Linked DNA regions of Homo sapiens: region 1 is linked to region 2. The links are contacts of gene promoters, found by promoter capture Hi-C in human tissues and cell types (Jung and others, 2019). All regions are on one chromosome and are shown on one strand. Each heading gives the region's core, a stretch centred on a gene start or on the middle of the fragment in contact. The rest is flanking DNA. Distances are from core to core; before and after follow the strand shown.

Region 1 (6,224 bases), core at 570-3,069, 47 kb before region 2:
TAATTTACCATGTGAAAAAGTCAGATACTCTCTCAGGAACAGTTCATTATTGTATGCAAATAAACACAGCATAAGTATATAATAAATTTTAGATTAATAATATATAAAATATAATTTTGATTATTTATATAATCAAGGCTTTCATCTGGGGCCTTGATGCTCGTCTTTCTTTGCACATTAAGTCAGTTTTTCATTTTCACATTCTTTTCATATCCCTCGTATGTATATGAAGGCAAGTGATTTCAGAAATCTAAACCCTGAGAAAACATGGGTAACAGAGAAGAACTTCTGCTGTGATATCTACTTCTGCAGGGAGTAGAGAAACAGAAGTAGAAGGTAAATCTGAGGTAAGCCAGAACTCATTTCTTTACTTCCTATTTGAAGCTGATTTCCCCTATACCTTCTCTGACAAATCGTAGGCAAAAGAGTTCTTGTGACTAAATATTTCCAAATTACCAATAATAAGAACTTCCTACAGAATGTCTCATTGACAAATTAGCACACAAGCTTCTACCCTATTCTAATTCATGGATAAGGAACACTGGAAAGTTATTTTGAAACAAATCCCATTAAAATGTAATTTAAGCTGTAATCAGAACGGAGCATAAAAACTGCAGTGAGCTGCTGGTAGAATCATAAATTGGTACCATTCTTTTGAGAATCTCTTTGTAAATATATGATGAGCTTTAGAAATGCTTTTATCTTTTGACATAGTAATTCTACTACTGTTCAGATTTTGAAATTGTGGATAAGTGATTCTGGATCTGTAAGACTGAAAAACCAGAACCACACTGTCCATCAAAATGGGACTAGTTACATTATAAATAAATGTATATTATATAAAGAAAATTGTGTTATATAAATTACATGGTTACTGGAAGGGTGATACTACATGGAACATTTACTTCACTTTTTATCTTTTTTTGCATTGAAAAAATAAATAAGCAGCATGTTTTAATTTTACTGCCTAAAAAGACAAAGGTTGTTCTTCTTATTGTTTTTTTTAAGAGAAGGGGTCTCACTCTGTCACCAAGGCTGGAGCGCAGTGGCACAATCATAGCTTACTGCAGCCTCTAACTCCTGGGCTCAAGCAATCCTCCTGCCTTAGCCTCCTGAGTAGCTGGTACTACAGGTGCACAATACTATGCTTGGCTAAGATAATTATTTATTCAATAATATTTAGTGAGTGCCAACTATGTACTAGTCACTGTTCTAGGGATATAACAATTTTTTAAAAAGTCGCTTCCCTCATGGAGCTTGAATTCTGCTAATGTAAGACAATAATAATGAAAGATTAAAACTGCTACGAAGACAAAGCAGGATGGGACGTTAAAGGGTGGCTATTCAATTAGGCTCACCAGGCTTATGAGATAACACTCAATTTAAACACTCAATTTGAGTGTTATGAGATAACACTCAATTTAAAATTTTAAATGAACAACCATTGTCAGAAAGAAAAATCAGTGCAACATCAAGTCAAAAGAACATCAGGAACATCTATGTTCCAACCTACTGAGATCCAATTACAGTAAATGCCCTCTAGAAACCTGTACTAATATAACTTTCTAAAACTAAAAAGATTCCTCTGAAGATGCTCCCATACTTACTCAATTATGGATTTTTGCCTTTGAGTTCTTTTCTATTTATAATAGATCAAAATAGCATGTGTATAGTATTCTAATTACACTGGTCATGATGGACTTTTATTTAATTGATCATCCCAGTGCTGTTTTTTTAAAATAAGTGTTTAACGCATATTAGGTTTTTTAAAAAAGGCTAAAGATGCAATATTATAAGCAGAGGAAGAATAAAAACAAAAGCATTATGTGGAGACATAAAAGTTAAAGCTATCAAATATCTAACAAGAATTCAGAATTTGACCTTCAATGCAGACGTTTTTAAATTTTATCTTGAGTAAACGGGATAGAAACTACAGGTATAGAAAACTTTTAAAACTGTACCCTGGGTTGAATGAAAAACAGTGACCAAACTCAAGATACCAGTACTTGCCGGTTAAATATGTAGCAATGGTTAATACTATTGCTGATAGCCTAGAAGGTAAAGTAAACAGACAGCCAACAAAGACAGAATTATTTATGTCCTCCTGTTCTGTGCAGAATTGGGTCCTAAGTGCTAAGGAAGGCGGCAGAAGAGAAAGCTGGCTCCCGTCCTCAAGGCATTTTTGATTCAGTAACTGCTTTTTCCCCTCTTCCCAAGCAGAAGTCACTTAAAAAGAACAATGAGAGATAAAAACTTTTACAAATTAGAAAACAGCCTGAAATAACATTTGAAGTTTAGTGAAACCATATGCCAGGTAGATGTAAAAGTGAAAAGTAAATTCAAATGACAGAAATAAAATGGGAAAAAGACTGGTTATATATAACTTAACAGGAATTTTTAAAACGTCTAGGGTATATAGATAAAAACTGAAAATAAAATCAGAAATAAGTAAAATAGTCTCTCTCTCTCTGTTAATAGCCTTTTAAAATGCCAAGCTCCGCCTATCAGCAGTGAATAGAAAATCAGCCAAGTACTTATCCTATTTGGTTTGGCACTGGTCTATCCATGGGAGTGAACTATGATCAAAACTGTTTTCTAAAGGGTGAAATGGGCTTAGAAAAACACAGGATGATTAAAATCGCTGTCTCTAAACCTGAACATAATGCCAAGAGGTAGTCAGGAAACATTACAAACTCAATGTTCAATTAGCATTAGGAAGCTAAAAGATGTAATTTTATAGTTAATCTTATTTCCATTAAATCTAATTGTCATTGATGACTCTATATAAATAAAAGTGCTTGCCTATAAATAATCACTTTAAATTGCTTTTTAAAATATAAACATGCTATCAAAAATTTATATTTAAAAATATCAAAGAATTATACTTCTTTGCTTACCATGAAACAAAGAAGCAGCCTAGAAAATGAGTTTTTGTTTTTATTGTTTCTAAAATTATCTCTTACAGCATAATCTGCATCAATAAGCATAGGACATTGGGAGCCCATTTCCAAAGCTTATACCAAACCAAACGAAACCAAAAATGACATTCTGGTTAACGTGCATCTATACTTTAGAGGAAATCTTAAAATTGGCAAAAGTGATTATGGGTTAATGGCGGGTATCTTTAAAGGAAAGGAATGAATTCCATCTAAGAGTTCATAGCTCTAAGAACAAAGAAAAAGCAGATGCTTACAACTCATGTACCAAAACACACTTGACATTTCCTTCCACTCACGCACCTCCTCTTCCATTTCTTATCACAGTAAACGGTACCACCATCCAATCAGCTACTCGGAGTAAATAAATGTTGGCTATTACCCGACTTCAAACTCCCTCCCCTGCTCACCTGAAAATCACTACAAATCCTGTCCATTTTAATCTCCCATCTATTTACCTCTGCTTTCTTTTCACAGACATCTCTTACTTACAGAGGACAGACATAAGTCCAAACAAATCAACAGCCACAACAATTTTTAAATGGATCCAATCCATCCACTAAAAAGCTACATACAAGATTATTTTGTAAATAAAAGGCTGATATAGTTATTAGGAATAGCAGGCATCACCAGTACTTTTACAACTAGAGTACAACGTAAAAGTATTGAGAAAATAGATAATAGAGAACAGCTCACCAAGAAGATATAAAATCATGGACATTCCTACACAAGGAAAAACTGACAGCTCCACAATCATGGTATTTAATGCAGCACTCCCTTCCTCTCTGGTTTTGTTCCTAATCTATTTCCTGCTTTACTGACCTCGTTAAAGACCTTAAATGGCTCCCTATGACCCAAAAGTCCATTGCTTATTTTGACTTAAGAAAAAATTTATAATAGAAAATCTCAAACATAATGAAAGTAGAAAATACTACAGTGAACCCCATTAGCCATAACAATTATCACAGGAAATCTTTTTTTTTTAATCTGTCCTCTACTCTGTATTTTTGGAAGCAGTCTCAGAGACCATGTAATTTCATCTGTAAGAAAGAGATTCTTTTTTCCCCAACATGACCCTAATGCCATTTTTACACCTAACAAAATTAACACAATTTACTTAAAAAAACAAATACCTAGTCAGGTCACCTTTATCCAATTACTTGTTCTCAAGACTGCTTTTTAGATGGTGGCATGTCCTTCTGACATCTATTGTTTCTTAGCATTGCTTACAAGGCTTTTCATAATCTGGCCCCTACCTTCACTTCTAGCCTCAATTTTTGAAACTAGTATTTTTTTCCATCCCCTAAATCCTGCACTTCCACCATATTTACTGAATTTCTGTTTATTTCACATGCAATATCCCCTCTTATCAAGCTTTATGTAAAAATTTTTTAGCAGCCTAAACTTCTTCCCAATCCCATCGACTTGCTTACACACTTGGCTCTCGTGCTTCAGGTCTCAGCAGATGTCATATCCTCCAACAAACCTTTCCTGCTACAACTCCCTGGTATGTGCTACTGGACCTAGAAATGAACTTTCAAATACAGCACTCACTACCCAGTTGGGTTACAAAACCTAGTGTCCCCTCTCTCCTAAATTCCCTTTTAAAAAGAAACACTCATTTCCATTTATAACTTTCTGCTTCTTAAGAAACCAACCTCCCCCTCTTGGGTGCTTTGTGCCCAACATGTTCATGGTATGGCTACTATTCTTTACTTCTACCTTTTGACCTATATTCATGCACAATTACACAAATCTCTTAAAAATGGTGTTCTGTAAGTACAAATCAGACTTGTTCAAAGGCTGTCAATAGTAAGAAAATGCACAAAATTACTTGAACATAATATTCAATAATCATAAAGCTTTCAAATGTGAAAAATATCCAGGGGTGCTAAAGGCAGGTACAAAAGGGATAGTGGAAAAAGAAAATCCTAACTCTAAAATAGGGCTCCAGAATCCTATGATTACAGGAGCAGAAAAAGGCTTCATTTTATTCTGAAAATGGCAGCAACTTTTTTTTTTTGAGACAAAGTCTCACTTTGTCGCCCAGGCTGGAGTGCAGTGGCACGATCTCGGCTCACTGCAACCTCCTCCTCCTGGGTTCAAGCAATTCTTGTGCCTCAGCCTCCCGAGTAGCTAGGATTACAGGCGCCCACCACAACGCCCAGCTGATTTTTGTATTTTTGGTAGAGACAAGGTTTCACCCATGTTGGCCAGGCTGATCTCAAACTCCTGACCTCAGGTGATCCACCCGCCTAGGCCTCCCAAACTGCTGGGATTACAGGCGAGAGCCACCACACCTGGCGGGCAGCAACTTTAAGAATAAGAATGCACTCATCAAAGGCATTATTGCTCTTCAACAGATAACAGCCTAAATACACACTTTCTTTGCAGAGGTTTTTACCGAAGTGCAATCAGAAACCTTAATTTGAAGATCAACTGTCAAAAAGAGTTTTCTGGGAAATGTTGGTTGACCACTTTGTGTAGCTTTCCTTACCTACGATAAAATCATGCAAAACTAAGTAAAAGTGAAAATTTCTCCAAGCCTTTAACAATCTAATTTATATTGCAAACCCAAGTGATTATTATATTGTGGCTTTGTTGTTATTTTAAGCTTTTATTTGGAAAAGTATTTACAAATATACACTTTAAACAATTTCATCAACATTGTGATCATGCAGAGCTAATTGGGCTTTATTACTATTATGCTATATTTCCTCTGCCAAAAATATATTTTTATTTCAGTTTAACAACACTAGATTGGAATATTTTCCAAGTGTTTAAAAATTTTGACTATGTATCCTATTAATGATTTAAATTTATATAGCCTGTGCTCGATTCGGCAACACATATACTAAAATTGGAATGACGCAGAGATTAGCATGGCCCCCGCACAAGGGTAATACACAAATTCGCGAAGTGTTCCATATAAAAAAAATAAATTTATATAGCCTAGACTTAAGAACAAGAGCTATAGCTAACACTCATATAGTACTTACTATTGCCCAAATGCCACAGTTCTAAATGCTTTGATTATCTTATTTAATCATCTCCACAATTCTATGAGGTTAAATATTATTACCCATGTTTTACAGATGAGCACAGAGATATCAAGTGAATTGCCCAAGGTCACCAACTAGTAAGCAGTGAAGCCAGCATTTGGTACTTTGGTAGCTCTGACTCGGCAGGCTGTTCTACCCCTCTTTGGGAAAAGCGTCGCAAATGAGCACACAGCTTCAGGGTGAATTCTTACAGCAAAGAAAAGGAAATGGGATAGCACAGCCCTGC
Region 2 (6,128 bases), core at 2,348-4,847:
AAAATGATGCTGTGTAAGAGTATGTTAGTGACATACAGTTGTCCATGTTTGGATGAGGAGAGAAAACGTAAGTTGGAACATAGAGAATGAACCCATTTTTGTAGAGATAAATTTCAGCTGCTGCAACTTCAGGAAAGTTACTTAATTTCCCTAAAACAGTTGTATCCTCAGTAAAAGAAGGTAATAAGAGTACCTACCTCACCGGGTTGGAGTGGGGATTACAAGAGATTTGATGTATAAAGCAACTGTCACGTTGCCTGGCCCATAGTAAGATCAATACTCGTTAGCTGTTTGTGTTATCTGTGCATAGGGGCAAAATATAAAGAGGGGGCAGATAGAAATGTTAAATGATTTTCTGGGTGGTGAGATTATGGCTGATTTGTTTTGCCTATACTTATAAATTTCCATAAGTAACACATTACTTATAATATGGGGAAAACTAATAAGTTGGAATACTCATACAAGGATAATCCTCTTAAAAATCTACCATAGTGTTTTGTTCACAGCAAATAAATCTTTTTTTGTTTTGTTTTGTTTTGTTTTGAGACAGAGTCTAGCTCTGTCACCCAGGCTGGAGTGCAGTGACGCAATCTCAGCTCACTGCAACCTCCACCTCCCAGGTTCAAGCGATTCTCCTGCGTCAGCCTCCCGAGTATCTGGGACTACAGGCGAGCACCAACATGCCCGGCTAATTTTTCTATTTTTAGTAGAGATGGAGTTTTACCATATTGGCCAGGCTGCTCTTGAACTTCTGACGTCAAGTGATCTGCCTGCCTCGGCCTCCCAAAGTGCTGGAATTACAGGTGTGAGCCACTGCACCCAGCCACACAGCAAATATATCTCAGTTGAGCTGAGCTGACCCTTCAGATTTCATTTAAACAAGCTTGCTTTGAATATTTAAAATTATTTAAACTGAAGAGCTATCACTTGTCCGTAATATTTTACTGTGTAAAGCAAGGCATACTTTTATTATTCGGCCTCATAAAGAATTTACGAGCCCCTATTCAAGACCATTCAGAATGCCACCAGATCTCTTATTATCAGTGGGAGGCAGCCTATGACGGCCTAATCACTTCTTGTCTCTTCCCAAGTCCCCAGCACTCTCCTTTTTTGACTCCTTTTTTCCCCTCTTGATAATCACAGCCTGAGGTCTCTACTGGACTATAAGCTTTGGGGTAGCAACTATCTCCTTCGTTTGCATTGCTGGCCCCTAGCACAGTGGCTGTTATGTAGTTGTTGCATACTAAACGTTAAGCAAATAAATATCTGATACTAGTAGTTCAAGACAAAGCCTTCAATTTCTCCATTGAGACAACACGCTAAAGGTGGGTAAGTCATTGTTTAGTCTAAAACTGTCCAAAACTCTCAGTAATTATTCCTTTAAAAAAGAAACATCTCACCTCAAAGCATCACTTTTAAAAAAAGTTCTCACTGATACTCCATTGTCTATTTTAATAGTTCTAAGATTATTTCTATTTTTCCCCTATATTTTGTTTAAAGTCCCACAAAAATCCCAAAGAGTTTAAGTAAACTTGCTCAAAGGAACACAGCTCAGAGAGCCTCAGGTCTCCTGGATTCCCATGTCCATGATCTCACTACACGGTACTGTCGTAGGACAGCTCCCAGATCTTTCACCCTGTAAGTTGTTATAGTTATGGTAAGAGCAAATGTCTTCAATAACGTGCACAAGTGCTAAAGTTTCTTCCAAACATTTCCTAGGGCTTTTATGAGATTCTGCGAGGGGAGAAACTCAGAACAAGGTGCAGCCACCTCAAGGTGTCCAAGTGTTTCCCTCTAGGTTCACAAGTCAACTAGCTTTACTTAAAAATGAAACCAAAGGAACCAAATTAAACATTAACTTGTTAAAAAAAAAAACACTTCAACCAGACTATTGTGAAGTAAGAACATTAGAAGACCAAGGAAAGGGCCATAAAGAGGAAATTTTGCACTGCTTGCACTGCTTCTTTAGGAAAAAAAAAAGGTAAAGGTAAAGTTAGCTTCCTCACGTCCTTTCTTCCTGTAAATTCCAGGTTGTCACTTTCAGCCATTGCTCTGACATTGTTTAAACAGTAAATGGCAGTTCCCATGACACAGGATGGAAACCATAACCTTCTCAGGTATCCGTACTAAAAATGTTTAACTTGCTGAAAACATCACTTCCCAATCTAAGGAACTTGCCAAAGGATTTCACATGCTAACCCTCGGCCCACCAGGCTTATAAGGAGGACATTCTGTGGAAATTAATTGGTTATTACCTAAGCCAGCTGCAACACACTATTATTTATATATAAACAGCTATAATTTGTTGGGGTCTGCTTTGTACCAGACATTATGAGAAGTCTTTTGCGCTTTAATCCTCATTATTATCCTCATTATTAATCCTTATTTAATCCACCTTATTATCTGAAGTAGCTATAATCCCATTTTACTGGTTCAGAATGTTTAATGTGCCTGAGCACCCACCGTTAATAGAGGAGACTGGTAATGAAACCAAGGATTTGAAAAGTTAGGTACAGATTGAAAACCCACGCCGAATCCAGTGACACTAAACAGTTGAATCTCTTCAAAATATAACACACATGTCAAAATGATTTTAAGGTCATTTCAGAGCAGGCAAGACTTGAAATAGAGGACCGGCAACATTAATAAATAAAAAAGACTACAGGACATAACATTTTGAGTTGGTTTCAAGCCGTGGATAATTAATGATTATCCATACCTCTGGATGGATGTTGACAGGGGTTCCCCGCCCCTTATTTTCGCTGAGAAACCAAGTCTTCCCTTCCGTAAAGGGAGCAGCTCTGGAATGCCACACGTTGAAGGGTTTCGGTGTGGGCTGCCCAGAGCTGGGCTGTTACTGTTCACACATCATCAGTAAGTGCCTCTCAAAAAAAAAAAAAAAAAAAAAGAGAAAGAAAAGAAAAACCACACACACAAACACACACACACAGTCCCTCCTCCACCAACTGAACTTCAGCCCTGACCTCCGGAGTGGTTCTGGACAATCTGGGGTTTAACCTGTGCCCTTCCAACGCCAGGACCGGGGTACCCGAAATGGGTTGCAAATGAATGAGATGACTGCTCAGAGGAAGGAGACTAAGGCACACATCTCTCCTCCAGACCACAAAATCGAGGAAGCATGCCCTGGGCGGGGAGGGTGGGGGCCGGATTAGAGCCACGTCCCCGCTTCGCAATCCACCTTTCCCCTCCCGCGCTTCGGAGGACTCTCCGCTCCCCAGCCCATCCTCCTCCTGGCCCCTCCGCGCGCTCCTTACCCGCTGGTGGCCAGGGCTCCAGACACTCCCAGCTGAAGGCACTTGCTCCCGGGAAGGGGATTTGCCAGGGGATGGAGCCCGCTGCCGCAGCCGCCGCGACCAGCCCCGGGCGTCACCACCCTCGGGCCGAAGCCGCTAGAAAGTTTGCTCGGGGTCTCGCCCTCCCACGCCGCGGCCTGACTAGGGGAAGCAGCTCTCCGGGTCCCTCCCGCGGCCGCCGCCCCCGAGGCCGCACTCGGCGGCGCTGCAGCACCGGCCAGGCTCCGTGCGCGCCGAGGGCTGGGTCTCCCCGCCCCACTCGGCCCACGGCGCGGCGCTCAGTGTTGACCGCGGCCCCGCGCCCGCTCTCCCCGCCCGCCGCGCGCGGCCCGCTCCCTGCGCCCTGCGCCCAGCGCGCTCTTGACATCATTCATTCTCTCACACCCTCGCCCGCCCACTCCATTTCCAAACAGTGACTCACCCGTCGGCCCGGTGGCAGCAGTGCCCGTTCCTGCTGCCGTGGCTCTCCTGGCGCAGAGTGGAGCTCGAAAAACCTGCGCGACTTCTTAAGAAGAAAATCCCAGCCGACTCTCCCCTCGCGGCTGTTTAAGGTGCAGAGAAGGAGGGGCTTGGCAGGCAGGGCAGTTTGGCTCCCGGCCGAAAGGCTGAGGGCCTGGAGCTGACCTCCCTGAGCGGCAACAGAGATCAATCTGGGAAAGTTCTTTGGGTGCCACTCCCAGCAACTTTCAGGGGTGGGGCTGGAACGGGATCCCCCACCCCCGCACCCGGCCTGTTTCGGAAACTGCTTCCTGACGGCGTGTGAGTGGGCTTGGGAGCGCCAGCGTTGATTCAGAGGGTTTATCGGTGTTGACCGGGCCTAGGTCAAAGAGGTGGGTTTCCAAACCTCACAGCGTTGCCTGGCAAGGTTAGTCATCAGTCCGCATGGTATGAGCTGGAAGGTTGCTCCAAGCTAATGAGGTGGCAGCACTGTCCCTTTCGTGCCTAACCATCGTGTCATTTGTCCTGTTAATTGATTTACTTCTCACTTAAGGAATCGTAACCAAAATAAACAGTGTAAGTAGTTATTTGCTTAACTGAATACTGCGCTTTTCCGCAGCTTTTGGGGCCCAAGGCAGCCGTGTGGTTTCTTCGAAGGCCTCAGTAGTTTTTTAAAAGGGGGATTGCTGTCTTTAAAATGGTAATGGTTCTACATTGTCCTGGAGTTGCTATTCATACACCTGCTGGGCAGTTTTCAAAGTAAACGATGGCAGCCTCAAGGACTCTAACTAGGAATGACCAATCCGAGGGAATGTGGCTAAATCTTTCTTGACATAAGTTTTACATTAATGTCTCCTTCTGGACAAGATAATTATGTTTAGGATTTGCGCTGGTTTATGGGTGCTTCCATATAATCAACAAAAATAATGACGGGAATCTTTGGGTTTCTAGTGCAGATATCATGTGGGTCAACAGTCATTTGTGGCTATTAAAGATGATGGTAACAGAAAAGAATATACAAGGCAGGCAATCCCCAAACTCGCAACTTCAAGATGTCGTCACAGTACAGGCAACCAAAGAAAATGGACAAATGGGATCATATTAAGCTAAAAAGCTTCTGCACAGCAAAGGAAACAAACTGAAGAGACAACCCACAGAATGGGAACTATCCATCTGACAAGGGATTAATAACCAGAATATATGAGGAGCTCCAACAACTCTATAGGAAAAAAAAATCTAATAGTCCGAGTAATAAATGGGCAAAAGATTTGAATAGACATTTCTCAAAAGAAGACATACAAATAGCAAACAGGTATATGAAAAGGTGCTCAGGCAATAAATACTGGCGAGGTTGTGGAAAAAAAAAGGAACCCTTGTGTTTGTGGGAATGTAAAAAGTATAACCACTATGGAGAACAGTATGGAAGTTCCTCATAAAACTAAAAATAGAGATACCGTATGACCTAGCAATCTCACTGCTAGGTATATATGCCCAAAAAAGGAAATCAGTGTATCAAAGAGATACCTGCACTCCTATGTTTATTGCAGCACTACTCACAATAGCCAAGGTTTGGAAGCAACCTAAGTGTCCATCAACAGATGAATGGATAAATCGTTACATATACCCATGGAGTACTATTCAGCCATAACAAAGAATGAGATCCTGGCATTTGCAACAACATAGATGGAACTAGAGGTCATTATGTTAAGTGAAATAAGCCAGGCACAGAAAGACAAATTTCACATGTTCTCACTTATTCATGGGAGCTAACATTTAAAACAATTGAACTCATGGAGACAGTAGAATGATGGTTACCAGAGGCTGGGAAGGGTAGGGGGGATGGGTAATGGGTAAAAAATATATATATAGTTAGATAGAATGAATAAGGTATAGTATTTGATAGCAAAACAGGGCAACTACAGGCAACAGTAATTGTGCATTTTAAAATAACTAAGAATATAATTGGTTTGTAACATAAAGAAAGGATAAATGTTTGAGATGGTAGATATCCCATTTACTCTGATGTGATTATTATGCATTATGTGCCTATATCAAAATATTGTGTGTACCCCATAAATATACCTACTATGTACCTACAAAAATTAAATTTAAAAAAATTTTTTTGAGATGGAGTCTTGCTCTGTCGCCTGGGCTGGAGTGCAGTGGCTTAATCTCAGCTCACTGCAACCTCCACCTCCTGGGTTCAAGCAATTCTCCTGCCTCAGCCTCCCGAGTAGCTGGGATTACAGGTGTGTGCCACCAACCCTGGCTAATTTTTGTATTTTTAGCAGAGACAGGGTCTCAACATGTTAGTCAGGCTGTTCTCGAACTCTTGACCTTGCGATCCACCCTTCTCGGCCTCGCAAAGTGCTGGGA

The links. Contacts are between HindIII fragments. The study calls those that stand out against the background at their distance.
Region 1: a fragment that was not itself captured here is called in contact with the fragment with the promoter of SGMS2 in region 2 in 1 of the 25 tissues and cell types used here (bladder).

The regions. Positions count from the first base shown.
Region 1 is chr4:107,867,453-107,873,676 of GRCh38, reverse strand. The region is part of intron 2 of SGMS2 (sphingomyelin synthase 2); the gene reads right to left. CYP2U1-AS1 (CYP2U1 and SGMS2 antisense RNA 1) reads left to right here. Exons shown (of 7, transcript NR_125929.1): 5 at 233-347; 6 at 6,032-6,224. It also overlaps the pseudogene RNU6-733P. Among named protein-coding and RNA genes, the nearest start is that of SGMS2, 46 kb to the right of the region's middle. The HindIII fragment of the contact is 3,686 bases long and covers 1-3,662 here.
Region 2 is chr4:107,822,401-107,828,528 of GRCh38, reverse strand. It overlaps SGMS2 (sphingomyelin synthase 2), which reads right to left and starts at 3,597. Exons shown (of 7, transcript NM_001375905.1): 1 at 3,276-3,597. RefSeq lists an enhancer at 180-1,379. The HindIII fragment of the contact is 5,909 bases long and covers 1-5,792 here.